Linked DNA regions of Homo sapiens: regions 2, 3, 4, 5, 6 and 7 are each linked to region 1. Evidence: promoter capture Hi-C in 16 types of primary human blood cells and fetal thymus (Javierre and others, 2016). All regions are on one chromosome and are shown on one strand. The core of a region is centred on a gene start or on the middle of the fragment in contact, and the rest is flanking DNA. Distances in the headings are between cores, read along the strand shown.

What was found. The method cuts DNA at HindIII sites, captures the fragments that hold promoters and counts their contacts. A CHiCAGO score of 5 or more calls a contact.
Region 2: a contact is called between a fragment that was not itself captured here and the fragment with the promoter of SLC9A9-AS1 in region 1, in 2 of 17 cell types (fetal thymus and naive B cells). The highest score is 5.8, in fetal thymus.
Region 3: a fragment that was not itself captured here is called in contact with the fragment with the promoter of SLC9A9-AS1 in region 1 in 8 of 17 cell types (M2 macrophages, M1 macrophages, M0 macrophages and 5 more); the score reaches 9.5 in M2 macrophages.
Region 4: a fragment that was not itself captured here is called in contact with the fragment with the promoter of SLC9A9-AS1 in region 1 in 10 of 17 cell types (M2 macrophages, M1 macrophages, M0 macrophages and 7 more); the score reaches 14.9 in M2 macrophages.
Region 5: a contact is called between a fragment that was not itself captured here and the fragment with the promoter of SLC9A9-AS1 in region 1, in 7 of 17 cell types (M0 macrophages, M2 macrophages, naive B cells and 4 more). The highest score is 11.0, in M0 macrophages.
Region 6: a fragment that was not itself captured here is called in contact with the fragment with the promoter of SLC9A9-AS1 in region 1 in 4 of 17 cell types (M0 macrophages, naive B cells, M1 macrophages and 1 more); the score reaches 6.2 in M0 macrophages.
Region 7: a fragment that was not itself captured here is called in contact with the fragment with the promoter of SLC9A9-AS1 in region 1 in 9 of 17 cell types (M2 macrophages, naive B cells, erythroblasts and 6 more); the score reaches 11.9 in M2 macrophages.

The regions. Positions count from the first base shown.
Region 1 is chr3:143,340,427-143,344,291 of GRCh38, reverse strand. SLC9A9-AS1 (SLC9A9 antisense RNA 1) reads right to left here and starts at 2,046. Exons shown (of 4, transcript NR_048544.1): 1 at 2,008-2,046; 2 at 678-942. The region is part of intron 14 of SLC9A9 (solute carrier family 9 member A9); the gene reads left to right. The HindIII fragment of the contact is 6,948 bases long and covers 94-3,865 here.
Region 2 is chr3:143,715,605-143,719,469 of GRCh38, reverse strand. All of the region lies in intron 4 of SLC9A9 (solute carrier family 9 member A9), which reads left to right. Among named protein-coding and RNA genes, the nearest start is that of SLC9A9, 130 kb to the left of the region's middle. The HindIII fragment of the contact is 3,635 bases long and covers 346-3,865 here.
Region 3 is chr3:143,684,135-143,687,999 of GRCh38, reverse strand. All of the region lies in intron 5 of SLC9A9 (solute carrier family 9 member A9), which reads left to right. Among named protein-coding and RNA genes, the nearest start is that of SLC9A9, 160 kb to the left of the region's middle. The HindIII fragment of the contact is 2,001 bases long and covers 1,215-3,215 here.
Region 4 is chr3:143,667,089-143,670,953 of GRCh38, reverse strand. All of the region lies in intron 5 of SLC9A9 (solute carrier family 9 member A9), which reads left to right. Among named protein-coding and RNA genes, the nearest start is that of SLC9A9, 180 kb to the left of the region's middle. RefSeq lists an enhancer at 1,487-1,536. The HindIII fragment of the contact is 939 bases long and covers 1,176-2,114 here.
Region 5 is chr3:143,651,115-143,654,979 of GRCh38, reverse strand. SLC9A9 (solute carrier family 9 member A9) reads left to right here. Exons shown (of 16, transcript NM_173653.4): 6 at 2,620-2,725. LOC102724120 (a long non-coding RNA gene) reads right to left here. Exons shown (of 3, transcript XR_001740940.2): 2 at 190-284. Among named protein-coding and RNA genes, the nearest start is that of SLC9A9, 200 kb to the left of the region's middle. The HindIII fragment of the contact is 4,289 bases long and covers 114-3,865 here.
Region 6 is chr3:143,039,924-143,043,788 of GRCh38, reverse strand. It overlaps U2SURP (U2 snRNP associated SURP domain containing), which reads right to left. Exons shown (of 28, transcript NM_001080415.2): 24 at 513-672. Among named protein-coding and RNA genes, the nearest start is that of U2SURP, 40 kb to the right of the region's middle. The HindIII fragment of the contact is 2,351 bases long and covers 1,036-3,386 here.
Region 7 is chr3:143,633,866-143,637,730 of GRCh38, reverse strand. All of the region lies in intron 6 of SLC9A9 (solute carrier family 9 member A9), which reads left to right. LOC102724120 (a long non-coding RNA gene) reads right to left here and starts at 3,730. Exons shown (of 3, transcript XR_001740940.2): 1 at 3,629-3,730. The HindIII fragment of the contact is 3,196 bases long and covers 384-3,579 here.

The sequences.
Region 1 (3,865 bases), core at 797-3,296:
GCATCAGGATATTGAATTGTTTGAGAAAATAAGAGCTGGATTTTTGCAAATAAACTCTTGCACCCATATGAAAGCTCGGTAGTCATAGAAGCTTTCCCAAATAATATGCCTTCCTCTGCCAATACACAAAGTAACCTTTGTCAGTTAATAATGAGCTAATTGTTAACCTGAACAACAGATGACATCAGAGAAAACTGGCATAAATTATTCCAAAATGAACTGTAAGTGAATCTGTCCACTTAATGAATCTAATTTACATGATTCTTCTCCCTGCTGTTTCCTTTGTAAATAATATTTTATTTAAATAATTGCCAGCCCAAAAGATAGAATCATAATTATTCTGGGAGTTACATGGATTTGATAGGTAAACCACTATTTCAGCCATAACTTGCAAGCTGGTTAGACCATTGATCACTATACCTGGGTGTTAGTTTAGATAGAATATTGCTGAGGTAGTCAGCTCAGTACATTGTTGAGGTCTCAAGAGCACAAAGACTCCTTGTTGGGAAACTCCTGAGACCTAGAACCATGTTTCCAAGGCAGCAGTACTAGGTAAATATTCTAGGTGTATATTCTCTGTCATTTTTAATGTATGAATAGCAGACTAAAAGTGCTGCTTTTTATACCTAACCAGGAATCATCTTTGACACCATCTGAAGAATCAGTGGTAGACTCACCATCTTCAGAGTCCTTCAGCTTCCACTAGACCATTTAATTCATTTTGAGGGGACAAAATAGGGACTCCTGCAGTTTTCTCTCTGTAGTATTTTCTTGCTGAATCCAAGACCACATTAGGAAACCATGCCGTTGATTTTTTCGACTACTGCTTGTGGCAGTTCTTGCCTAGCTGTTGAAAGTTACTTTTTTTCCCCTCTTTACATCTTGGTAGAACATCTTATTCTGAAAATTGACTATCTCTCATCCTCCATTCCCACGCTTTGCCTAGAAAATGAAAAGATGTTTAAAAGAATGCCCTCCTGTTCTTGCCACTACAAAAAAATCAAAACATTTCCTGTCATACACTCACACACAATTAGTCTCCTTAACAATAAAGAGGAAAAGAAGTGGGAAAAAAATATCCATGACCTCTGTTGGTATTAAGTCTATAGGATACACTCAGCAGAGTCAAACCATCTAGCACAATCAAAACCATTATCTCCTCCTCTGGGTGTCTAAACTGCCCATATCAGTCATTTCAGTGAATAAAGAAATAAACAAACACTAGAAAATAGGATAGTTGTAGATTTGAGAAACAGTAAAAGTGTGGTGCTATGTATAGCAATGATATCACTTGTATTATTACAGTCATTTTTATATTACTAGCATTTGGGGATTATATCATCTAGCATTTGAGGTTGTTTTGACAATTTGTTCACATATAGATAAGAAAGAAGGAATGATCTTTTCAAAGAGAGATGCATGGTTAAAAGCGTGGCGCGTGTATATTTGCATGCACATGCACCTGCACCTGAGGTTGAACATGCACCAGATACACCATACCCCACCTGAGTGATTAAATAGATCACTCAATAGGAATTTTTCAGGTCATTTTCAGTTTTCTCAGTCTTTTGAAATAAGGTGATATTTTATGGTGCCCACAGTGGTTTGTGTCTACAAGCATTGCCTAATTTTAAAACCTTAAGTTAATCTTGACAAATCTGGCTATTGGAAGCTGTTTGGCCTTGAAGGTTATTTTATTTGTGAGTCCTGCTCTAGTTGCTACATAGATGGTGGCATTGGGTGGGGTGTTTAAAATCTAAGATAGTCCAATAAATAAACTGAAATACATCAGCAATAAGGTTTATAAGTGACCTCATGAGGAATCATCTAGCTTCTTAGATCAGGGTCTGCTGGTCATAAGGGTGGATCACTTGAGGTCAGCAGTTCAAGATCAGCCTGGCCAATATGGCAAAACCCTGTCTCTACTAAAAATACAAAAATTAGCTCGGTATGGTAGCACATGCCTTGTAATCCTAGCTACTTAGAAGGCTGAGGTAGGAGAATCACCTGAATCCAGGAAGCAGAGGTTGTAGTGAGCCAAGATGGTGCCACTGCACTCCAGCCTGGGTGACAGAGTTAGACACTGTCTCAAAAAAAAATAAGAAGCTCTAATGTTTGTTTCATTGAGAGATCCCTTCCTAAGGGACCCAACAAGCAGCTTCAATGATGGTCAGTAAAGTATGAACCTTATAACCATAGTTTCCACGTTTCCACCTTTGCCTCCTACTGAGGCGGCAGCAGAGCTGGGTCCTGACTGTGATGCGGTATTCCCATAACACAGCTCCACATCCAGAGGTAGTTTCACCCGGAATCAATGAAACTCAGCTTTCAGGGCTCTTCATCTGCATGGGTCCTTTGTAAGGGACCAGTGTTGATATTCAAAAGTGTGCATTCTTTTTATTAAGAATAGCCTCCAAAATTAGGTAACCTTCAGACTTCATGAAATCTGGATCTATCCCCGTCCATGTGAGTAAACACTACAGGGAAAATATGATAAATTAACGGTCTTATCATAATATTAAGTATTACAATAAATTATATGATTGTAAAAAATTTCAGTCCCTAGCACCTATATAACACTGTGTTCTGTATTTGCATATCGGAGTCATTTTGGTAAACAAAATTTTAATTTATTTGAACAGGGTTCGGGAAATCCTCAGGAAGTTTAACTTGCAATTTGGTATCTGAAGCTAATGTTATTCCTCTCCACATTTCTCCTCAAACATTTGGCACAGCTTTTCCTACCGTGGCAAGCAACTTGTCCCATTCTGAAAAGTGTGTTAAATTCACAGATACCCAATAATGATTATTGCAGGGTGTTCTCCAACACGTTTCATCCCTTGGTCTAAATTTACATTGTATGACTATGACCTGGGATGACTCTCTTGCCCTCCCTTGTAACTCAATACAGTTATGAATGGATGATTATTTTTATAAAATCCTACTCTGGAGTTCCCAAATTGACAGGCATTGGAGGCTCCCAAACCGACCCCATCTCAGGTATATATTCTCAAGACCAAAAGTTTATGAAAGCTAAGCCCCCTTAAGCCCCCACTACTCCAAAGGAACTGCAAAACAGCACATGAACAGTGAAAAAGATCCTAAAGAAATTCACCTCCCGATCACACCAAATTAATGCTATCCTGAGATACATCCAGCGAAAGGAATTCATCATATTCCACATAAGTGCCAAAAGACATTTGGACAGACTTTCAGCCTAAAGGATAGTGAGAGGGATAGTCTTAAAAATTTTAAAGATTTCTTTAGAACTTTCTTAGAATTAAGTGTCCTATTCAGCTTAATTGTTCTGCTACCAGCAAAAGTGATAAAGTTCAGGTGATCCTAAATGCAGAAAATATGTGGAAGTGAATAAAGCCTTCTGCACTAATGACTAGCAAATTTCAATAGATTTCCAATCTCTCTTTTTCACATTTCTTGTACCAACTCATTTATATTGTCATTCTAGAAAGAGCACATAAAAGGGTGTCTGGAGATAGATTTCTGGATGTTAAGAGAATCTTTAGTGAGTGGAGATAAGACCTGACCAGGAGACCTTTTATGAGTATATTCAGAAATGTAAACTGATGAATATGGTAAGGGCAAAAACTCAATATGATTGCATCTAAGATAGGATAAGGAGTTAATGCCCCTTTCCAAGAGAAATCTTGAAGACGGTACCAAAGTGAGCCCCAGGAAAGATCTGAACTGAAACCTCTCTAAGAGTCTCTTCAAAGCCTCCACTAGCTATAGAGTGGTTGCAATGGAGAATGATCTTGTTTTCCATTAAGAAATTCCAACTACTCATTAGTACCTGTTTTATTTTTCCCACTATAGCCTCCAGGCCTACCACTGTGCCTGGCACAAA
Region 2 (3,865 bases), core at 914-3,413, 380 kb before region 1:
TTAATGAATTTCTCCCATCCCTGAAAGGCCCTACTTGGGGCCTTTCATCATGGATTTTTATTAAAGACACAGGAAAAGGGGACATTTTCCCAAGTAAAATCAGGGTTTAAATATACAATTGATTTCATCATCAGGCCTCTTGCCTGTGCATTTGGTGCCCTGGGCCACTGCATCCCACATGTTTCCCAGTAGAAATGGAGGTGTGTTGAGGAAGCTGCAAGCCCTACCCCAAAGTTTGTAGACTATAAGATGGCAAGTCACTCAACTACCTTCAAAGATCTGTCCGCACAAGGAAAACCTGAGCCCTTTATCTTCCATGGAACATAAATGCCCACAGATAAAGCTTCTCAGTAAGTGTGTGTTGTGTCCTATAAGAACCAAATACAAATTTATAGAACACATTAAGAAGTTAACGTTCCATTTATCCGTTTAAGATTAAACAACCATTTATTGAGCTACCTACTGTGAAGTAAGCATAATAGCCCTCTAGGTTGGTATTGTTTTCATTGTGCAGAGGAAGAGACTGACAACTGAGGGGCTAAGTCGTCCTAGATTAAGTAGCTACTAAATAGGAATGCTTAGAGCTAAACTCCGAGTTTCTGATTTCAAGTCAAATGCTCTTTACCTTATATTCAATTGTCACCTCGAAACTCAGAAATCAAAGCCCTAAAGGAATGGAATTCATGACTGATAATTTTTGATGAAAGAAGAAAAAAGAGGGAATGTTCAATACACGAGATACTGCCTGCGTGGGCTGATCCAGGTGAGCAGCTGCAGAACTGAGCCGGAAAAGCCTGTGGGAGGTGCTATGAAGGGCTTAAAGGGCAATAGCAGAACCTGCCTGTTCAGCTGTTACGTGGGAAGGGGCCAGGAAGGTGGTGGAACCCAGGCATTTCACTCCATGAGGGTTTCAGCTCCAGGTGAGAGCTGCTGGGATGGCTGGGACACAGCTGAACCTGATCCAATCTCGCGGGCACATTGGTGTCTGTGCCTTTAATTCAAACCTCTTCATTCTGTAACAAAGGCAGAAATGTTCTTTCTGTGAGGATGCTGTTGGTGTTATGGATACTGTTTCAAAAAAATCATGAAACAAGTATGCAAAGAAAACATTTTCCCCTGAGTTTCTTCTCAAAATCCTGTGTGTGGGGGAGAGAAATATGTAACAGGAATAGAAAAATGTAAGTAAACAGTGCAAATCAAACCAGTAGGTGAGTTTGCACATCCAAAGATTGCAAAGAGGAAAAAGGGGTTATTTCAGCTTTATGTTGTTCTCTCTGAATGTTTCCTTTTGTTCTTAATGTTTTCAAGTCAGAGACTGATAAATGTGCCAATTCGTATGAAATGGCTTAGGTGGGATGCACTATCTTTTTTTTTTTTCCTGTTTAACTCCACATTACCTATTTGATTTTAACTTGTGTGGCTTGAACTTTCTATAACCATCTGGATTCTTCAGTTGTTGTTGAACATGTTCAGCTGATTCATTTTTGCCACTGAGAATATTGCATCCACATTGTGAAGTGTAGATCTACTAACCTTGCCTCTGTATAACAATTCATTTTTCCTTTCCTTATCTGCAAATGGACAAGGCCATTTGCAACAGAAAATGTGATTTTTTGTGTGTATGGACTTGTTTCTATCCTCAATCCCAGTGATATAGCTCTCTCTGAAATGAAGAATTGCATTGACTACTAAAAAGACTTTACTGGAAGAAAAAACACCTTCCAACAAATGGGGTGCATCTTGGTTCAAACTAGTATATCAGAATTCACAAACACAAATGCAAAAAGGGACTAGGCCAGTGATGTAAAAGATTGAAATCACTTAGATATAAGGGTAGTTCAGCCTGGCAAGTGTAGAAAGTGTCCCCATCAAAAGGAGGCAGCCAGGCAGCCACCACTAAGCTCCAATGGATTGTTTCCATTGTTTCCATGAGAAAACAATGGCCCAACATTGCCAGATCTTCTTATTTTCCAAGAGAAGCTCATAGCCTGAATTTTTATGTGTAATCTGTTTATTGTCAGCCACGAATTCTAACAATTTCATAAACACTCACTGCCACTCAACAACCAATTTTCAACTTCTATGGTAGCTGAGGAATTAAAGAGAGAAGCCATAGTCAGAGCCATTCATTAGGAAATGACCTTGACCTTAGTTTACAACCTTGACACAAAACATCTAGTCCAGTGACCAGCAACATGGTATCACTGGGACTGTATTAGAATTCATAATCTCAGCACCTGCCTCCCCAACAGATCTACTGAATAATAGTCTACATATTAACCAGATACCTAAATGATTGATATGCACATCATGGTTGGAAAAGCACTGATCTGTATGAGGTTATGTTTAGTGTAAGGACATCCCTTATATCCCAGAAGGGGTTCTGCCATGGCATACCCACCCTGGGAGGCTCTCAGGGAAGTCTTTTTAAACTCTAGGAGCTACTGATTGTGAAGCAGCTGAAGGCTGTGATTCATTTGCCTTCCTCCCCCTCCATTCCTCGTCTCCTTGCCCTTCCTCCTTTGCCCATCCCTGGTCTCACGAGTTGTGGTCAGTGAACACATTACTGTTGCCTCCCATAGGCCTCTCAGTTGTGCAAGCCAACAGCAAAAGAGCCACATAAACGGCATTGGTACCATCCTATATTCTCCCTTGGGAATTGTCTCTTTTTTCTTTCCCTCTGCCTGCTCCATATTTGCTCACTCAGCATCTCCCCTGTGGTCGTCATCTTGATTGTTTATTTATCTGAGGATTGATTTGTTTTGTTTTTGTGTCAATACTTTGTCCCTCATCTTTTGAACTGGTAACCCTATTCTGGACTGATTTCCTAACTTTGACCTACTGCTTCCATAGTGTGCTTTTTCTGAGTGTCCTTCTTCCTCTTGGTTCTCACAACCTCCTGAAAGGAGAAACTTGCCTGAGTCCTGCCTAATCTCCCTGACCAATGTTGGCCACTCTTCTCCACTTGACAAGAGTCTGGGATAAGACACTCTAACTCATCTCTTCTTTGATGTGAACTGATAATTAACTGATAAAATTTAATAAGAAACTAAGTATGTGATTTTCCTTAAAAAAAAAAATACTGACATAAAAAAAAGCCAGGTGCAGTGGCTTATGCTTGTAATCCCAACATTTTGGGAGGCTGAGGTGGGAGAATTGCTTGAGCCCAGGAGTCTGAGACCAGCTCAGACAACATAGGGAGACCCCATCTCTACAAATAATAAAAAATGAGCCTGGCATGGTGGCACACATCTGTAGTCTTAGCTACTCAGGAGGCTGAGGCAGGAGGATCTCTTGAGCCCAGGAGGTCAAGGCTACAGTAAGCCATGGTGGTGCCACTGCAATCCAACCTGGGCAACAGAGTAAGATTCTGTCTCAAAAAAATGGCATTTGAGTCTCAAAGAAAAAGCACCATTTCTCTTTTGAAAATGGCTCAAAGTAACACTTATGTGAAATACAGTGAAGTTGCTATGGACGATGGTGGCTTGGTGTGTAGTAAGACAGAAAACAATTTACTCTTTTGGGTATAGACCTCACATTTTGAAAGTGCATTTAATTGAAGATGTTCTCTTTGGCAAATCATACCTCTTTGGACAATGAGACCTACAAAACAGTGTTTTGCTATCATACCTCCCCAGGTTTTCTATGACAGTGAGAGGACGCTCGATGCTGCCCTCACTTGACCTTGCGGTGTGGGAGCCCTTGGCTTGTGATGTTTCTTGTCTCTCTGACCAGGGCTGTCTCATTCCTGCCTTGGCCTTCCTCTCTAATTCTTCCTCTCCCCACTCTTTTCATGGCTTTCATTTGACAAGTAGCTTCTGAGCACCTATGTGTCCATGATCCAGGGATCTGGAGATGGCTAAGA
Region 3 (3,865 bases), core at 966-3,465, 340 kb before region 1:
AGGAGGGAAGGAAGAGAGGGAGGGAGGGATCCAACTTGGTAAGATGGTTACTTATCTGCATCGTATCAAACACCTGAGTGGACTGAAGTTTTTAAAATACAATATTGGCTCATAACCATAAAGAGCATCCTGGGGCCCAAGTCTACTTTCCAAGTTTGGCATGGACCAGCTGTGCAACTTTGGGCAGCCACTTCGATTTTATACATTATTGGAAGTAGAAGATAGCATTTCTCATTGCTTCCAACTTCTTTTTTTTTTAACAGACAAAACTGACTCTTCATCTGTAAAATAAAAAGTTTTAACTAAAGGTCTAATATCCTTCTAGATCTAACATTCCATGATTTTTATTCCTGTGAGACTGGTTTTTATTTTAAAACAATCTTTTATTTTAGGGAAAATGAAAGTCAACCCGAAGCCTGCTAACTATATTCTGAGGTTCCAACCTCAAATCAACAAATGCTAAAGATATCTCATAAGGTAGAAACCCACACATGAATAGGAACCCTTAAATTCTCTTCTTTTACTGGGAACTAATTGTTATATTAAAACATGCCGAACCCACTCTCTGCTAAATTGGTGCAATTTAAGATCTTCAACAACCTTAAAACACCTAGTTAATCTTACCCCACAATTATTCATTTATTGCCTAAATTATTGTGACTCACTAATTTACGAGAGGAAACCTATGCTCTGCAGGTCTGACATTTCTTGGCCATTTAAAAATTAATTATTTCCCATTTAGCCTTAGCTAAATATTAGCTAGCTGTTATTATTTCCTTCATATTCATCTTTTATGGATACACATTTAGTCTTAAATCTAATTCTTCTGCACATTTCAGACTCTCAGCCAATTTTCGATTTAGCTCCATTTGGGATTATTTGACTATAATTTGATTCATTTTATCTCCTCCTTTCCTTACTGATGAAGATCTTGCTGATGATGGAAAGGTCATCATCAGCACTTAACAAGTGGACAGTGAAAGGCAGAACAACCAAAGAGACAGTATATGGAAAATGGCAGGACAGGGAAAGAAAGAAATACACAGAGGGCTCAATGAATGAGCCAGCTCTTCTTCTGGTGTGTGCAAAAAACAGAGACTAGGAGGATGGGGAATGGGAGAGGAAAGATAAACAAAACTTAAGAGAGCAAAAGCCCAAACAGCTGGAAATAGATGATTCGTTTAACAGCTCTCATTTTGCGATTAGCCAAAGCTTGTCAAGGAGCTGTCCAGCCTCATACTCTCCTCTTGTCTTTTTCATTGCTGTCTTGGGGTCTCGTTTGGTAAATTTGACTATCCAAGATAACAATTTTGATTAACAAGTTGGAAATCTCCTTTCATATCGGGTAGGTGGATAAAGAGGGGAGTCCTTAAGGTGTGTAAAGATATGTGGAGATACAAGCATACCCATGAGCCTTGAACATACCAGTTTTGTGGCTGCTTTGGTGTATTTTCGCTTGTTGCTCCCTCCCCACCTTCTTCAGGTCTATGCTCAACTGTCACCTCAGTGAGAGCCTTTCTTGCTCACCCTATTAAATACTGCACCCCCTTGCCCAGACACCCCTAATCACAGAGCTTTCTATCCCCTGTCCGTGCCTTACTTTCCTCCACATCACTAATTACTAATCACTATTGATCAATTTATTTAGTTCTTTATTTACCTATTTATTTACTTCTTTGTCTTCTGTGTGGGAGATTTTTTTCTATTTTTCTGGATTTTTTTCCTCTTTTCAGTCTTACAGTTCTGATATCTAGAACAGCGAGCTTTTAATAAATACCTGTTAAATCAGTGAATTAATACAACTTGAGGAAGAAACTGCTAGGGCAAAGTGTGGAGTGTGGAAGGGTATCTCTTTTCAATTATGAAATGTGAAGTAGTTGAGTATCCCAGGTCACCCTCGCGGATGAGGTGTCTCATGGCCCCTGGAAGGGCAGTCTCCCAAGGTGAGGGTAGACTTCCAGCACATAGCTGCATTTCTAGCACATAGCTGGACTTCTAGTACATAGCTGAGTGGCTTTATCAGTTTCTGTCCACCAAAGAAGATATATTTAACTAAAACAAAGATATGTGCCTTTCCTCTTGTCCAACCATGTAGCAAATATTTCTTTCTTCTGTTTATCTGGTGGTCAGTGGCTGAACATTTTCCAGAGCATTTCAAGCTATGGTTTGTGGACTTGCAAGAAGCAGTTATAATCGTGTGTTTTTTCTAAGTTGGAAGATGTTCAAAATAGTAGCTTCTTTTAGGAAAAGGAAGAACTCAGCACATTGCATCAAGTATTAAATAATCACCCAGAAGATGCCAGAAACTCATCCTGGTATTTATGGAACTGACATTTCCTCCAAGGTCTTCAGGAAGCCACTCATTCAAGTACATGTGTTCTGTGCATTTTCTCACTTCATCAATTTCCCTGTTTCCTATTTGGATTAGAGTATCTTCATTTTACATGATGCAGCTGCATTGAGACTCAAATACAGCTGCACTATTTTGAGCTCCAGAAGTATTAATCCAGTATTCAAAACTAGAAAATAATTATTAATTCAGAGACTTGTCCAATTTTCCTCCTAGAGAATTAATCCAGGGTGTCTTGATTTAGGTAACATTAGATAGGGCACATTCTAGAGTTGCTGTATCCGACATGATACTTACGAGATACATGTTGCTACTGAACCCTAGAAATGTGACTAGTCCAGATTGATATGGGCTGCAAGTATAAATACACCCTAGATTTCCAAGACATCATTTGAAAAAAGTGAAACATCTCATTAATAATTTTATACAGTATTAATTACATGTTGAAATAATATTCACTTAATATCAAGTTAAATAAAATATCCTATAAAATTAATTTTACTTGTTTTCTTTTTACCTTTTTAAGAAGACTACTAGAATATTTAAAATTACATATGTGGCTTGAGTTAAATTTTTATTGGACAGCACTGCTATAAAGATATATGGAAATGAAACTGTTGGAAACCAAAACCATGACCCTTAATAGAAATACTGTAATAATTTAAAATTGAGTATTAAATACAAATACAGTATTAATTACAGATACAATGCACCACATAGATTATACCATTTGGTAAAATATAGGCGATTTATTTTTATGAGATTGAATTAATATGTCTGAGATTTGCTTTCTAAAATCTCTCCTCCCAGTCTCATTTTTCTGCTTTGATGCATAATAACCTATAAACTACTTTATACCCAAGCTTCAGAAATAAAAGAGGGTAAATATCTATATGATTCAAATATCATATATGTGCCATTTAAACCACAAATACTGTAGCCTCTGACTTGGGGACAGTGGATTAAATAAACTCCTGCCCAAATGTCTCAATTGTATTCTTTTTGTAAGAATATAAATAAGTTCTTAAGCCTGACAATCTCAGCATTGTTTTTGAAACACCCATTACTGTTTTCTCTTATGTAACATGTCACAGGTTCAAGAAACTTGGTATTTATATTACGTTAGCATGGTTTCAAAGTGTGTTGACACATTTAATGTTCCTAAATTGGGTAGACTCAATATGAAAAGTAAATACTTATCTAAAATGAGTAAAGGGAGACAACCTGCATAGCCAGCTGGAAAATACAGTCCATGATTTTTTTCATCAAGTTCAGATTTTAAAAATCTATTTGATGTAAATTATTAGTTCAGTTCTCTCACCAAACAAGGCAAAATACACAAGTGCTTAATAGGATCTATTTCTTTATCTGTATCATCATCAACACTAGATAATATTTAATGACTAGATCATCACAGATGCTTCACAATATAAAAGGCCCATTGAGTTCTGCACAGTACATAATAAATACTTATCAAATAAATAGAGCAGTCATTGAATATTAAGAACACTGTTC
Region 4 (3,865 bases), core at 396-2,895, 330 kb before region 1:
GTGCCAATCAAGCTTTGGAAGAAAATGAAATCCAAGAGTCAAGAGTCAAGTTCCCACTTTATAATTGATTTTATTTAACAAACATTTGTTCATTGCCTGCTATGTCATAGGCACTGTAGGAGCTACTGAGGGAAGGGATAATAAACCAGACACAGGTTCTGCTCTCAGCATGCTCCCAGTCTAAAGAGGGAGGTAGATACGACAACTGGCAGTAGTCTAAAAGACAAGACAGAGGTAATCCAGGCAGCTTTGTAAACACAGAGTACCACCTGGTGGGGAGAAGGCTCTGAGAAAGCTTAAGGTCTCCTGTACCTCAAGCCAATATTTTGCCCAGATGAAGAAGATAACAGCTCAGCTGGAAGAACCATGAGCCATGTTTCTCTCCAGGGCCACAGACGACGTCACCTGCAGAACATTAGCAAGGTCTCCCTGGGCTCAGATACTCTTTGGAGTGTCCTGTCTTGGTAACCCTTAGAGTCACAGTCAAAACAAGGGCATATGCATTTGAAATTATGACAGCCCTCCCCTCATTCATGCAGAGAAGTGTTAAACTCATGATCACTTTTCTTGACATTGTTCTGCCCATTGCACATGCTGCTCTGTAACCCTGCAAAGCACACCCTTGATCCCAGCACTGCATCAGGGCTCCATCCGCATGATTTGGAAAATATACACATTCCACATCTGGAGACTACAGTTTGGAGTTTGGAGTGAGACCCATAGAAATTTAGATGTGGAAGGCCCTTAAAGACAATCTTGCTCAACATCCTCATTTTTAGATGAAGACCCTAAGACTCAGAAAGACAAAGTAAATGGACACAGAATAGGAACTGTTCTTTCCAAATACAGAAGTTCAAGGGAGTAATTTGTGAGAAAGGAAGAGAGATAGAGAAGAGTTTTTAACATTTCTCTGCTTGATAATATCTACTTTTTCTCATTTGAAGTTATTTTTAAGTGTTAAAGGAAAACAAGTAGAAACTGTCATTCCATTTTATACTGGACTGACCCACTAATAGTTTTGATGGCATGAACAATAACAATACAGTAACCACCACTGATGAAGCACTTACAATATGCCAAACATTTTGCATAAATAACTCCAATTAATTATTCTCCAAAAACCTGAAGAAGGGATTATTTTATCCCCATTTTACCAAGGAAGCTTACTTGAAGCTTAATGAGGTTAAGTAGCCTGCTCAAGATCACCAAGTTCATTTGCATAACAGCTGGGGTCTGATCAGAACACAGGTTGGTTTGACATCACAGTCAAGTTTCCAACCACTGTTTTCTACTTTAGTACAGAGTTGTAAATAGCAAGGTCTTGGCACAAAGGTCTTGCTTCAGAAGTTGGAAGCTAGTTATGGAAAGTCACCTCCAGAACAGAATTGGACACAATAATAGATAACAACCAACTATATAAATGCTTCAGGATGTTGAAAGTGGATCAAGCAAGGCTCCAGGTGTTCTGAAGATGAAATTTCGAGAACATACTGAAAACCGTTTGAAGCAGTTCAACAGCTCCATGGACAGCTGGGAAACAGCTGTGGTTGACAGACCTCTCTGGCTCACTGCTTTGGGGAACAGAATGTCTCCGTTTAAATGAAAGCAGTTTATTCTCAGTAATGCTCAAAGACGTATAGGATGGAAGTTTTGAAAGTCAGTGTCCAGCCCACACATTCCATTTATGTGTTAAAGAAGACATTGTACATTGAGACAAATTGGATTCAGTAATTCTTAGAGAGTATTTCCTTGCTGTCTGGTTCTTTTTAGGACTCAGCCAAGTTGATGAGGTCAAAACCATGGAAGAGTGAGGCAACTAGGGAGTAAAATTTAAGAAGGCACTCACTCTCTGGATTATGTAAATGCAGGATCAGCAGTTGTACAACCCTAAAAGGGAGTGCTTTCTTAAGAGAAAGGTACCTAGGATGGGAGAGCAGCCACTAGTCTCAGACTGGGATTTGGTCCTCTTGTTCCATAAAGACTCACAGGTGCCTCTTGGGCAGGATTTCTTGAAAAGCGGCCAAGAAAGGACAAGAATTGACCTTTTGTCTGGGTGCTACAGACAAGGAATTGTGTTGTTCAATTTATTATTTTGCACTGAAATGGAGAAAGCTTTTTGAAACAAGTTCTGTCAGGTCAGTGAGTGGGCAAAGAAGTTCCTGATTACGAGGGCAGAATACAGGAGAAAAGGAGCTGTTCTGATCCTCGAGGAGCTAACCACATGGTGGGTGACCTTCAGAGATTCATTCACTTGTTAATTCATTTATTCAGTAAACAGAATTAATTGCCTATTGCTTTCCAGAAACTATCAAAAGCATTGACAAATGCGCAGATGAACAAACTAATACCAGTGATAATCAACTTTTTAGCCAAAAAGTTCTATTCAAAAAAGGAAGTGAAAGTGTTTATAGGCTATTTATTGGGAGGTGGTTTTTTAAAATGCTACTTTCTTTTTTTATTTTTACTTTTTTTGTTATTATACTTTAAGTTCCAGTACATGTGCACAACGTGCAGGATTGTTAAATATGTATACATGCGCCATGTTGGTGTGCTGCACCCATTAACTCGTCATTTACATTAGGTATATCTCCTAATGCTATCCCTCCCCCCTCCCCCCACCCCACGACAGGCCCCAGGGTGTGATGTTCCCCACCCTGTGTCCAAGTGTTCTCATTGTTTAGTTCCCACCTACGAGTGAGAGCATGCGGTGTTTGGTTTTCTGTCCTTGTGATAGTTTGCTGAGAATGATGGTTTCCAGCTTCATCCATGTCCCTACAAAGGACATGAACTCATCCTTTTTTATGGCTCCATAGAATTCCATGGTGTATATGTGCCACATTTCCTTAATCTAGTCTATCATTGATGGACATTTGGGTTGGTTCCAAGTCTGCGATTGTGAATAGTGCCACAATAAACATACGTGTGCATGTGTCTTTATGGCAGCATGATTTATAATCCTTTGGGTATATACCCAGTAATGGGATTGCTGGGTCAAATGGTATTTCTGGTTCTAGATCCTTGAGGAATCGCTACATTGTCTTCCACAATGGTTGAACTAGTTTACACTCCCACCAACAGTGTAAGAGTGTTCCTATTTCTCCACATCCTCTCCGGCATCTGTTGTTTGCTGACTTTTTAATGATCGCCATAATAACTGGCATGAGATGTTCTCTCATTGTGGTTTTGATTTACATTTCTCTGATGGCCAGTGATGATGAACATTTTTTCATGTGTCTTTTGGCTGCATAAATGTCTTCTTTTGAGAAGTGTCTGTTCATATCATTCACCCACTTTTTCATGGGGTTGTTTGATTTTTTTCTTGTAAATTTGTTTAAGTTCTTTGTAGATTCTGGATATTAGCCCTTTGTCAGATGGGTAGATTGCAAAAATTTTCTCCCATTCTGTAGGTTGCCTGCTCACTCTGATGGTAGTTTCTTTTGCTGTGCAAAAGCTCTTTAGTTTAATTAGATCCCATTTGTCAATTTTGGCTTTTGTTGCCATTGCTTTTGGTGTTTTAGACATGAAGTCCTTGCCCATGCCTATGTCCTGAATGGTATTGCCTAGGTTTTCTTCGAGGGTTTTTATGGTTTTAAGTCTAACATTTAAGTCTTTAATCCATCTTGAATTAATTTTTGTATAAGGTGTAAGGAAGGGATCCAGTTTCAGCTTTCTACATATGGCTAGCCAGTTTTCCCAGCACCTTTTATTAAATAGGGAATCCTTTCCCCATTTCTTTTTTGGTCAGGTTTGTCAAAGATCAGATGGTTGTAGATGTGTGGTATTATTTCTGAGGGCTCTGTTCTGTTCCATTGGTCTATATCTCTGTTTTGGTACCAGTACCATGCTGTTTTAGTTACTGTAGCCT
Region 5 (3,865 bases), core at 1,009-3,508, 310 kb before region 1:
TTTATGAAACAGAGTTCAGTTCTTTGTTCAAAAGGAATTGTGGGAATGTCAGAGCAGTTATGAACAAAACTGGATATTCAATTAAAAGCCTTTCCTCTTAAAAGCTCAAAGCTTTCGTTAGACAGGTGTAGAGTCTTCCCCATAGGGCAGAGGGGCTCCATAAGTGGGGAGGTGGGGTAAGGGCCTTACCTTCCTTTTCCTGGGCCTAGGAAACCTCCATGGAAGTGGAGATGGGCTGCAAGTCATCTTCAGAGCTTGATGATACAAATGAACAGCTACAGAGTCTAAAGTTAACAATAGAGAGGCCATGATAGAATGTTCTAGTTAAAAAAAAATGTTACTTTTATTCCACAAGATCCTAGCCAAAGGAAAATGTTGCTAACCAAACCCCATTGTAACTTTTTTGTTTTGGGTAGATGCAGTGTCTTAACTCTATCCAAAAAGGAGAAAGAGATTACTTAGCAGAAGTGTTTGCTTGTTCCCTCCCACCAACTGCAACGTCTAAAAGTTGTGGCAAATGTTAACAGCTGCATGCTAGTAAAAAGCAGATCTCTGCCATTTTACCTATCATGATTAATAGGACCTATTCAGCTAGAATAATAAAATTGATTCTATGCCTGATAAAATGGGATCTGGCCAATTGTCATGTCAATTCATATGGCATTTTCTTTCTTTTTTTGGATTTTGCAGTAACTTCTTTAAAAACACTTTTTAATTGACAAGAACTGTATATATTATGTACACAGCATAATTTTTTGAAATATGCATATCTTGCAGAATAGCTAAATCAGGCTTATTAATATATGTATTACCTCGCATGCTTTTGTCATTGTGCTTAGAACACTTAAAATCTGCTCTCTCAGCAATTTTCAAGTGTACAATACATTGCTACTAAATATAGTCACATGTTGTACAATAGATCAAAATCCAGAGTCATTCCTTGCTGCCTCTCAAGCACCAACACCCACCAATTTTCCATCTCAAATATCTCTGGGGTGCTGTCACCTCTGCTATATCTTCCTTGATGTTCTCTCTTATTCGTTCACTCATTAAAGGCTTACTATGTCGCATCACTGTGCTAAGGGCTTGTGGCACACAGAGAAGATGAAAACCAGTGAGGTATATTTGTGAAGTACAAAGCACAGTGGTCATTGGTCTATTAGAACCCAGGACAGTGAACATGTAAGAGTTTGGGAGCATGAATCCGGGCCTCTTCCTGTCCTGGTACAACTCATCTCTTCCTGAAATTATTGGGAAAGCCTCCAGCCATGTGTCCATTCTGCCCTCTGCTCTTCTGCCTGAGCTTTATTTCCAAAGTTCAGATTGTGTCATCTCTCTTATTAAAACCCTTCATGACTCTCTATTATGAAAGAACAAGCTCCAAACTTCTTAATCCTACTTATAAAACCTTCACATTCAACTTGTCTGTCTTGCTTTTATTTCCTCGTAGCACTGTTTTGTACAACACAGTTACTAACCTCACCACCCATGAAATAGGAAAGGAAAAACAGAATTAAAAATACCCATTCTGCCTTAGACATTTGCCATCAATATCATTTTCAACCTCCCTCTTTCCCCCTTGGCAATTAATTCAATGGATCATTTTCCTAATGATTGCTGTTCACACTCTGCTTAACTGTTTTAAATATCAAGATATTGAATAGTTTTGATGAACACAGATAATCAGTGTGTGAGTATTGACTGCCCTAATGTACTCACAGAGGCTCAATACAAGAACATGGCATATAGTAGCAGGCCATGCAGCAGGCAACCAGAAACAAATCCTCATGTCCTGTTCTTAAGATCATTGAGTCCATCTTCACGGGTGAGTGTGATCTCAGGACAGAATGAGACTCAGGTGGAACCGTGTCTCCCTTCACAGGAGTAGGCCATTGCAACAACATTTATTCATTTATTCATTCACTCATTCATTTAGTCATTCATGCATCAAGCAGTTACTGAGTATGGTCTAACACCATGTGTCCAAAGATGAACCCCATTTCCAGGGAGCTCCCAGTCCTTTCTGTGGTAAGTTCAGTGATTTGATCCAAATGCTGGGATCCAGAAAGGAGTGAGCCAGGCCTCTGCTGAGGCAGTTGAAGGGTTGGGAGGGGGACAGTTGAAAGGTTCTTAAAGAATGAAAAAAATGAGTCCTTGGTAGCAAGAAGTGTGTGTGTGTGTGTGTGTGTGTGTGTGTGTGTATTTAAGGAATACAAGGATGGTAGCAAGTGGACGAGGAAGGAATTGCTGCCATAGTAGAAGGAATCAAAATGCAAAGGTAGTTAAGAAACTACACAGTGTGTTTGGGAAATTATGGCAAGTTCAGTGTGACTTGAGAAAGGCAGCAAAGGGGGCAGAGGGAGATGAGGCTAGAAGGTAAGCAAGGTGCAGATTGTAGGGTACTTGTACTTTGGAGCTCAAATTTTATCTTTAAGCAGTAGGGAGCCAAGAGAAGCCTCTTAAGCATCAGATATTTTTTGAATAAAGGTCTGGTGTTAGTATAGTCATTGGATTTGAGAAGATGAGCATTTCATTAATGTTTTTGAGTGGTGACCATAGCCAAGGAAAACTCCATGCCTGCATCCAAGCTAACCTGCATGTTTGTGTGTGTCTTCCTAGTGACAGTGCTGGCCATTTTCCATGAACTGCACGTCGACCCTGACCTGTACACACTCTTGTTTGGAGAGAGTGTGTTGAATGATGCAGTGGCCATAGTCCTTACATAGTAAGTACCAGAACTTGGCCTATGTTTCTTTAATCATGTGAAATATGCTTTCACTTGTATCTTTTCTCTTATGTCACAGAGATACGGGCAGTCTCTAGCTTTTTTCAAGGAATTGTTATCACAGAAAATTTCCATAATGGGCACAATTCATTAGGCATCTAATTTCTAATACTATTAATGGGTTTTATGTTTCCAGCTTATTACAAGATACTACCTAGAGGGTAACTTATTTTTCTCAGTGCATATATTTAGCTGATTCACTTAGGTTCCTAAAATGCACATAAATGAGCTTTTTTCATTTCAAATCAATATCATTTAATTTTTCGCCTTATATAAGTCACTTTCCAGATAATAGTCTAATAGAAACCCTTGTATTTATGGGCAGATTGGCAGATTGGAGCCAGAACCTAAGGGTCAGAATACTCTTTATTTCTCAATGCAAAGGTAATGCTGTATAGGAATGCATACATCTTTAAAACATCACATGACGGATGAAACTGATGGAGCTTCAGCTCAGCACCAGTGCAATTTCCCTTTGCGCTGGAAGGATATTAGGGTGGGGGGATGAGAGCCAGTGCTCTTTCCTTACCTCCCCTTTAGACACTTACCATTTATATTTAATAAATGCCACTTCAGTGGCTTTCACTATGTCAGAGGTCTCTTCTTGGTTTTAGATTAAGACCAACATTTTGGGCAACTGTCAGATATCCCAAAGGAAAGTCAATATCTGATAATTCAATGTGACAAAAAGATTCTATTCTGGGTGTTAATTACTTCAAATGCAGTTTAAAATGTATTGTGAAGTAACAAAAGATTGTTAAAGTCAGATCTCACAGAGGGGAGTAAGAAATGACAGAGCAGCACTACTCTTTTTTTTCTTTCTTTTTGCCAGTTGACATTTCTTAAGGCTGCTGCCCCAAAGTTGACAGTGAATTCAACAATTTTCAAGTGTGTCTCCAAATATACTTATATTTCACCTGGCCACAGAGAAGTGTCTTTCCTGCTTTAAAGGAAAATATCAGTGAGTGCAAATTAAGAGCAAAAGCCATGGGCAGATTCACAAATGCTAAAGGATGCTTTTAAAGAAACACCAAGAACAATTAATTAGGACATCAGGAATCCCTGTCCAAGAAATACTAG
Region 6 (3,865 bases), core at 962-3,461, 300 kb after region 1:
TCAAAAAAAAAAAAAATGGATTTCTCACAGTACATAACACATAATGTATTACATATATATATATATATATACATATAATCTATACATTAGAATCCATTTCTTCAGAGGATCTCCTATGTGTCATGTATTAGACATACAATGATAAAGAGAAAACAGACATGGCCTTTTCCCTTCATGGAAAGTGCAGCCTAATGGGGAAGACAGACATTAAATAAGCAAGCAAGCAAGTAAGCAAACAAACAAAATACACATTCACATACATACCCCACAATACATATAAAATCACACAGAAATAAATAGGAAGAAGCAAGTAAGTCCAAAAGGGTAAGAAAAGGCTGTGAGTGAACAGACGGTTGAACTAAGAGGCCTGAAGAAAAGTCATCTGGTATGAAGAGTTCTAAGCAGAGAGAAGGAACAGTATGTACTACGGTACAATGCAAAGAGGCAACTTAGTTTGGTGGAGAAAGTGAAAAGCCAATAAAGTGTAATTTAAGTTTCACTGCAACACCAACCTCAATTTCACGAAGTTTGGCTCGTTTTTCCTCACTCATTTCAGAGTACTTAGAGAACTTAGACTCAGTCATTTCTTCTTTGATTGGATTAGAGTACAAATGATGTTCTTCAGATTTGGAACTTTGAGTATCTTCTTCATCTTCACTTTCTTCTTCTTGACTTTAGAAACAAGCAGAATACATTGTATGTCAAGGCAGCAAGAGAGTACCATATTTTACAGTCTACCTATTTTATTTTTCATTGTCTTAGAGCTTAAATAACATAGCCAAAACATAATAGGACAATTCATACCTCAAGCATATTTTGCAAAATATTTTATCAATATTTTACAGACAATTTTATAAAACACTTCTTTCCTCCACAGAAAATGTGTGAGCTTCAACATAAGCATACTGTAATAAATTCTGCTTATGTTGTTATCTGTGTGCCTTCCATTTGCAACAAACTTTCCTTGCAGCAGTTAAATGAAACGAATAATCAAGTTTCTGCATACTTCACAGTTCAGAGTGATTTCAAGAAGCTTTATGTTCTCCATTCCTGAGTTATTTCACTCATATTGTGAGCAACAATATTCACAAATATTCTATGTTCTCATTTATAAGTGAAAGTTAAGCTATAAGGATGTAAAGGCATAAGAATAATACAATGGACTTCTGGGACATGGAAGGATGGGAGGGGGGTGAGGGATAAAAGACTATATATTGGGTACAGTGTACATTGTTCAGGTGACAGGTGCACCAAAATCTCAGTAATCACCACTAAATAATATATCCATGTAACCCAAAACCACTTGTACCCCAAAAACTTTTAAAATGAAAATTAAAAAAAATTAAAAATAAAAAAAGCTGTATGTGTGCCTTTAGTAACTTCAGCAGAGCCTATAATCAATCTAGAAAATACATGAGCTTGAGTCACAGAGTTACTAAGAAATAACCAATACAGCTGGTAAAGACCTTATCTGATTAGCACATAACCTTAATAATAAAGCAATGTATGCATTTTATATATTAGCAAATACCGGTATTCACATTTCAGTTGATTCTGAAAGTTGCACTGGTTCTGGGTCAGACAAGAAAATAAAAACCTGAGAGACTATCATGAGTAAGTCACTTAGGATACAAAGAAGAAAAATTCTCCTGTCCTTCCAGAAGCAGTCTAGTGGAAACACAAACAGGCAACTGTGTGTAAAGCTGGTCATCAATGCTAGTACAGGATTAACCAAATGTTCTTGAAGCACAAAGAACAAATGGTTTTTTTAAAAAAAATACATTCTGAGACTGGGTTGTGTGTGTGTGTGTGTGTGTGTATACTATTGGCAAATAAATCTGGGCAAAACAAGATACCCATATACAAACAAACTCAGAATGTTTATATATATACAAACAAAATTCCTTACAAACAATGTTGACTGTGATAACATTACTGGCATAACCCAGAACAAACGCTGTTTTGCCTTTAATACTTGAATCTCGCAAGCCCTTCTATGTTGGTATTTGGGTACTAAGGACATTCTACGATGAGCAGAAAGATTCCTTTTAATATACATGTAGAATTATTCTTAATAATGTAAAAAGTTATAATCAAATTCTTTCCAAATAAAATTTAATTAAAGTCTTATGTAATAAGACCTTCATTGTATGAGAGAAAAATTTACACCAGGCAGATAAAAAGAAAGGCTGTCAATTCAGAATCAGAAAAGATATGGTACTGAGAAAACTCTGATACTAGCTTTTAAATTTCTCAACCAAAGGTCCTTTCTAGACATTACTAAAATATTTTACTAACTTCATCTTCAGAACCACACAAATCATTAATATCACCATACAGGTACAACTCAATACAATATTAGCTAAGGAAGAAAAAAGTCCAAACCAACAGTTTAAAAATATTCTTCTTGGAAAAAAAGTTTTACTTAATATTTCTCATTAATTTGTCATAAATTTCCTAAATACAGTTTTTAGTTAATTTTTTTAAAACACAAGAATTTCCTGTTTTATGGTACATAAAATTATACAAGTGTTTCAGATGCTTTTAGATTGAAGTGTATGTGTGTTTATGTAAACAGGGATGTTTACTGAAGAATTATTCTAGAAGACTCAATAAGGACGTGACTTTGTTAAACTGAGTCACAGTTACTATGAAACAATAATACAGCAGATATTGATTACTTAACCAATTCTAGCCTGTAAAATTTTTTCTAATTTTTTTTTGCAATTTCAAATATTCTTTGGTAAACATCCTTGTATGTTTACCAAAATGTTTGCTTTCAATCATAGATGAATACAGAACAGGTAAACAGATTAAAATGGCATAATACCAATGACATTGAATGAAAAACGTGTCACAGAATAGCATGTACAGTAATATTACATCATTTATGTCAATAGTTATGCATGTTTTTATACACACAGAAAGGGTCTAGATGGCTGAACATTAAACATTTAACCATATTACTTAAGACTTTTTAAATGAGCTCTATTCATGATTTAAAATATGTAAATATTTTAAATTGCTATTATAATTTTTTCAAGGCTTAAGCAGTTTTTCTAAACTGGTTTTGGCCTTAGCTTTTAGCCACAATTCGAGGTTCAAATCTTATCACAGCTTCTTCCTCTTCTTTTTTTAAAAAGACATGCAAATTCAAGATTCTAAATCCATACAGTATTCAATACAAATGAAACTGCTTTTTGTAACTTTTCTCCAAAACATGCTTTAAAAATCACATTTCTGCCACGAATCACAATATTGCCACAAAATATAATAATTACTAGTTACAAAATCAGCCTTAAGTAAAAAGACATTTAGGATTCAGCCACTAGAGAGTAGTAGTGAGGCATGAGAACATTTCAAGGATCACAAGCTGCACAAAAGCTTTTTTTCCTTGCTTTGTACTTTGTTATTTTTACATTATCATGATTTACCTGAAATTCCTAAGAAAAATGAAAAATCTAAAATTATACTTCTAGTGATCCAGGCTTCCATTAATGTATGCGTATTCCAACATCAATGCTAAAATGTATTCATATTCCAAACATTAACACAAATATCAGTTTTATGCCAAAAAACTAATACCTTTAGAAATAAAACTAATAGAACAATACTTTTTTCAGTTCAACGGCTTTTCTACCCTTCCTTCCCCCTAAATTAAATAATTATTTTATGAGTACGTATACTACTTTTAAAGCAGTGATTCTAAAATGGTAAGATGTTACTAATCATAGGATCACGAACATAAAAAGGGTTCAGAAAACCACTGTTTTAAAGCAAACTGAACTAAACGGTTCTCAATTTGTGTATTCCTAAACAGCCTCAGATAGGTATTTCCATTAGCAAGCCACATCTATAACATTAT
Region 7 (3,865 bases), core at 732-3,231, 290 kb before region 1:
TGGCAACTTTAGTATACATATCTATTCTCACCTTTAAAAAATAAAAACCTGTTGAGATTTTAGATGTCAGTTACGCTAAAGCTATAGATTATAAAAGCAAATAAGATCAACTTTAAGGGGAAACAACATTATAGAAAACTAAAGCCCAAAGCATATATACTTACTAAGGTGTATATAAATGGCTATTATATCTACAAAACAGGGATAAGCTGAAATTTGAAATATAAATCATAGAAATTCAAAATAGGAAAATCCATATTTATCAAAGCCTTTGTTCAGTTTTTACATTCTTTTTGCTTTATTTTTGTCTGAATGGGTTAATTTAAAAGATATGTAGTCAAGCTTTGAAATTTTTCTGCTTTGTCTAATCTATTGTTAAAGCTTTCAACTGTATTTTGTAATTCCATCTGTAAATTTTTCATTTCCAGAGTTTTGTGCTTTCTTTAAATATCTATCTCTGTAGTAAATTTTTCATTCATATCTTGAATTGTTTTTCAGATTTCTTTGTATTGGTTTTCAACTTCCCCTTGGATCTCGTTGAACTCCCTTATGATCCATATTTTGAATTCTTTATCTGTCATTTTAGAATTTTCATTTTGGATAAGATCCATCACTAGAGAGCTAGTGTGATCCTTGAGGGGTGTTACAACACTGTTTTTTCATGGTGACAGAATTGGTTGGTTCCTTCTCATCTGGAGAAACTGTCACTTCTTATTTTTGAATTTACATTCATTTTAATGGGACTTTATTTTTCCCCTTGAAAGTGTGACTGTTGCATATGTTGGGTAGGGTCATTTGGCTTTGCTAATTTGTGATCTTGGGGTGGGGGCTAAGGCTCCGTATGAATTCCTTGGTTATAGATAGCCTTAGTGTAGTGGCTTGCTCAAATGCTGCTTGTTTGTAGGTTTTAGTAGTGGTGTACTCTGCATGTTGTCAGGCTCACTGTCTCCTGCAGAGATGGGGAAGTAGAAGTCTCAGGAGATTATCTCATTCCCCAGTGCTTTGCACTTCTGTTTATTCTCACTTATAAATGGGAGCTAAATAATGGGTACACGTGGACATAAAGAGTGGAGTAATAAACATTAGAGACTCCAAAAGGTGGAAGGGTGGAAGGTAATGAGGCTGAAAAATTACCTATTAGGTACAATGTTCACCATTTGGGTGATGGATACACTAAAAGCCCAGGCTTCACAGCTATGCAATATACACATGTAATAAATCTGCCCCTGTACCCCCTAAATCTATAAAAATATTAAAAAATTTAAAACTGGGAAAATCAAAATAAAATACTTAATAGATGAGCGGATATGATTGTCTACTTAGAAAATACAAGAGACTTAAATGGCAAAATATTAGAGAAATCGGAAATCTGGCTAGACAGATGATTGACAGACAAAAGTCAGTAGCTTTCCAGGACTTCAGCAACAATTAATGATAACATGTAATGGAAAACAGTTTTATTCATAATAGCATCTTAAAAATCTAACATAATTAGAATAACATTAAATAATAAATGTACAAGATATCTGAGAAGAAAAATTTTAACTTTAGTAAAGGACCAAAAAGACACCACAAACAATAAGGAGAGCTGCTATGAGACAGGATGACAAGATTCAAAAGCCAATTCTCCCACAAGTAAACTATATCTTCAATGTAAACTCACTTCTAAAACCACAACATATATTTTTAAGCCTATTCTACAGATCATGTGGAGCTTCTGCTTAAGACAGCAGGATAAAATAGTTTTATTCTACTAGACTCCCTGAAAACAAACTAAAACTAAGAAAAACACTGAAAAATAGAAAAAAAATAGCCGTTGAAACAGGAAAGTATTCACAACTCCAAACTATAAACTATGAAATATTTAAGTATGAAGTATTGCCGCTGAATAATGTGAAATCTTAAACAAGAGATGGTAAGATGCTGAGCCAAGTCTGTTTCTCTCGGACCTGATAGCACATCATACTACTGAAAGGAGCATCCAATATTCTGCTGTTTAGAGCACAGTTAAGATCAGGTAGATGGGTCAGGGGAAAATGGGGAAAATAGTCTGACCCCTCAAAACAGCAGCCAAATAGAAATCATGCTGACACATTCTGGTTTCCTAGCCAAGGACTCTGCTGGAGGCTATTTGTATGGAAGAAAAGGAGAAGTTTTCAAATTAAAACATAATTCATCCGCAACTTCGGGGGTTTTTCTCTGTGCCACCTCAATTTGAATGCCATAAACTACAAAAAGATGTATTCCCAATAGCAAAGAAATAACAGATTTGGTGACAGATGCTTGAGACAGCCAGTGGCAGTTTTAAAACATAGCCCCCAAATTCATTGACACTCCTATCCAGAAATGGGTCTATGCCCCACCTTCAGTGTAAAGAATACAGAAGGGATGCTGTCCCAGTTTCCAGGTCCAGGCCTTTAGTAACTAGCAGCTTCCACCTCCTCTCGCTTAGAGAACTTACTCTTGGAACCCAGCCACCTTGCTGTGAGGAAGCCAAATCAGTCTGTGGAGAGTTCCACCTGGAGAGGGAGCGACAGCCAGCAAGACTTGCCAGACATGTGGGCGATCCATCTTTGAAGTGGATCCTGCAACCCCATTCAAGCTGCCCCAGCTGATACCACGTGGAGCAGAAATGAGCTGGACCTACTGCACCCTGCCCAATTTGCAGAAATGTGAACAAAATAACTGATTGTTATTTTAAGTCACTCAGTTGTGGGGTGGTTTGCTCTGCAACACTAGATAACCAGGACAAAACCCAAATTAAAACAGCAGTGAGCCTCAGCTTACTCTACCCTATTTCACCCCTTTCCCTGTACTATTATTTAATTATTTAAATAATAGTCAGGCTTTTAAAAAGATGAGTTATAATCAAAAAGGAGGGAGTAATATATATTCATTAAAACTGCAAAGTAATTTTTTATAAATAATGGAGGGAATTTAAGCCAAAGAAGAGCCCACAATCCCCAAACAAATACATCAAAGTATTTCAGAAAAATTGTAGACAAAGAGTTCTCCATTATTCTGAAGGACTTGCAGAAAATATGGATCTCTCTGTCTCTATATGTGTGTGTGTGTGAAGCAATAAACATCAAGCAAATGCTCCTAAGTATCAAGCAAACAAAAATGTTCAGAGCAAAGTTCAAAATTTTATAGAAGAGATATAAAATAATTAAGGGAGATTAAAAGTGTGCTGGCAATACTCAGGGAAAAAGTTGGAGAGATCAATAAAATCACTAAAGAGACAAAAGACACTAGAAGCCACAAAAATACAATGAACTTCACTGAAAATATTGTTAAATACATAGAAGACGCATTTGGGGAAATAACACAAAACAAAGTAGAAAAGAACAAAGATATAATGACTCCAGAGAATATGACAGAAATGAATGACAGATAGTTGGATGGTTTTGAAGAAGAAAACACTTGGAAAAATATCATAAGAACATGGTGTAAAACAATATTCTCCCGAAACAATGTAATAAATAGATAGACATAAAGGACCCACTAGATTTCAGGAAAGTTTCATTTGGAATCATCGACAGCATAAGATAATCTGAAAAAGTTACTGAATTTCAAGCTTAAAGAAAGGATTATGGGAGCACATAGGCAGAAAATTCAAGTCACTTACAAGAGCAGAAATAATCAGGTTGGCTTTCGACTTGACCACAGTGACATTCAATTTCAGAAGATGGAAAGGCAGCACATGTTCACTTCTGAGGGAAAGAATGTGAAACCCAAGCCAGATTGTTCCTCCAATATAAAGGCAACAGTTTGGGTGTTTTAATAGATAGTGTGGGGCAATGGGCTATTCCTTTGGGAGAAAAGTTAAATGCCTAATTCACGTCATTCCTAAAATGAAACTAGA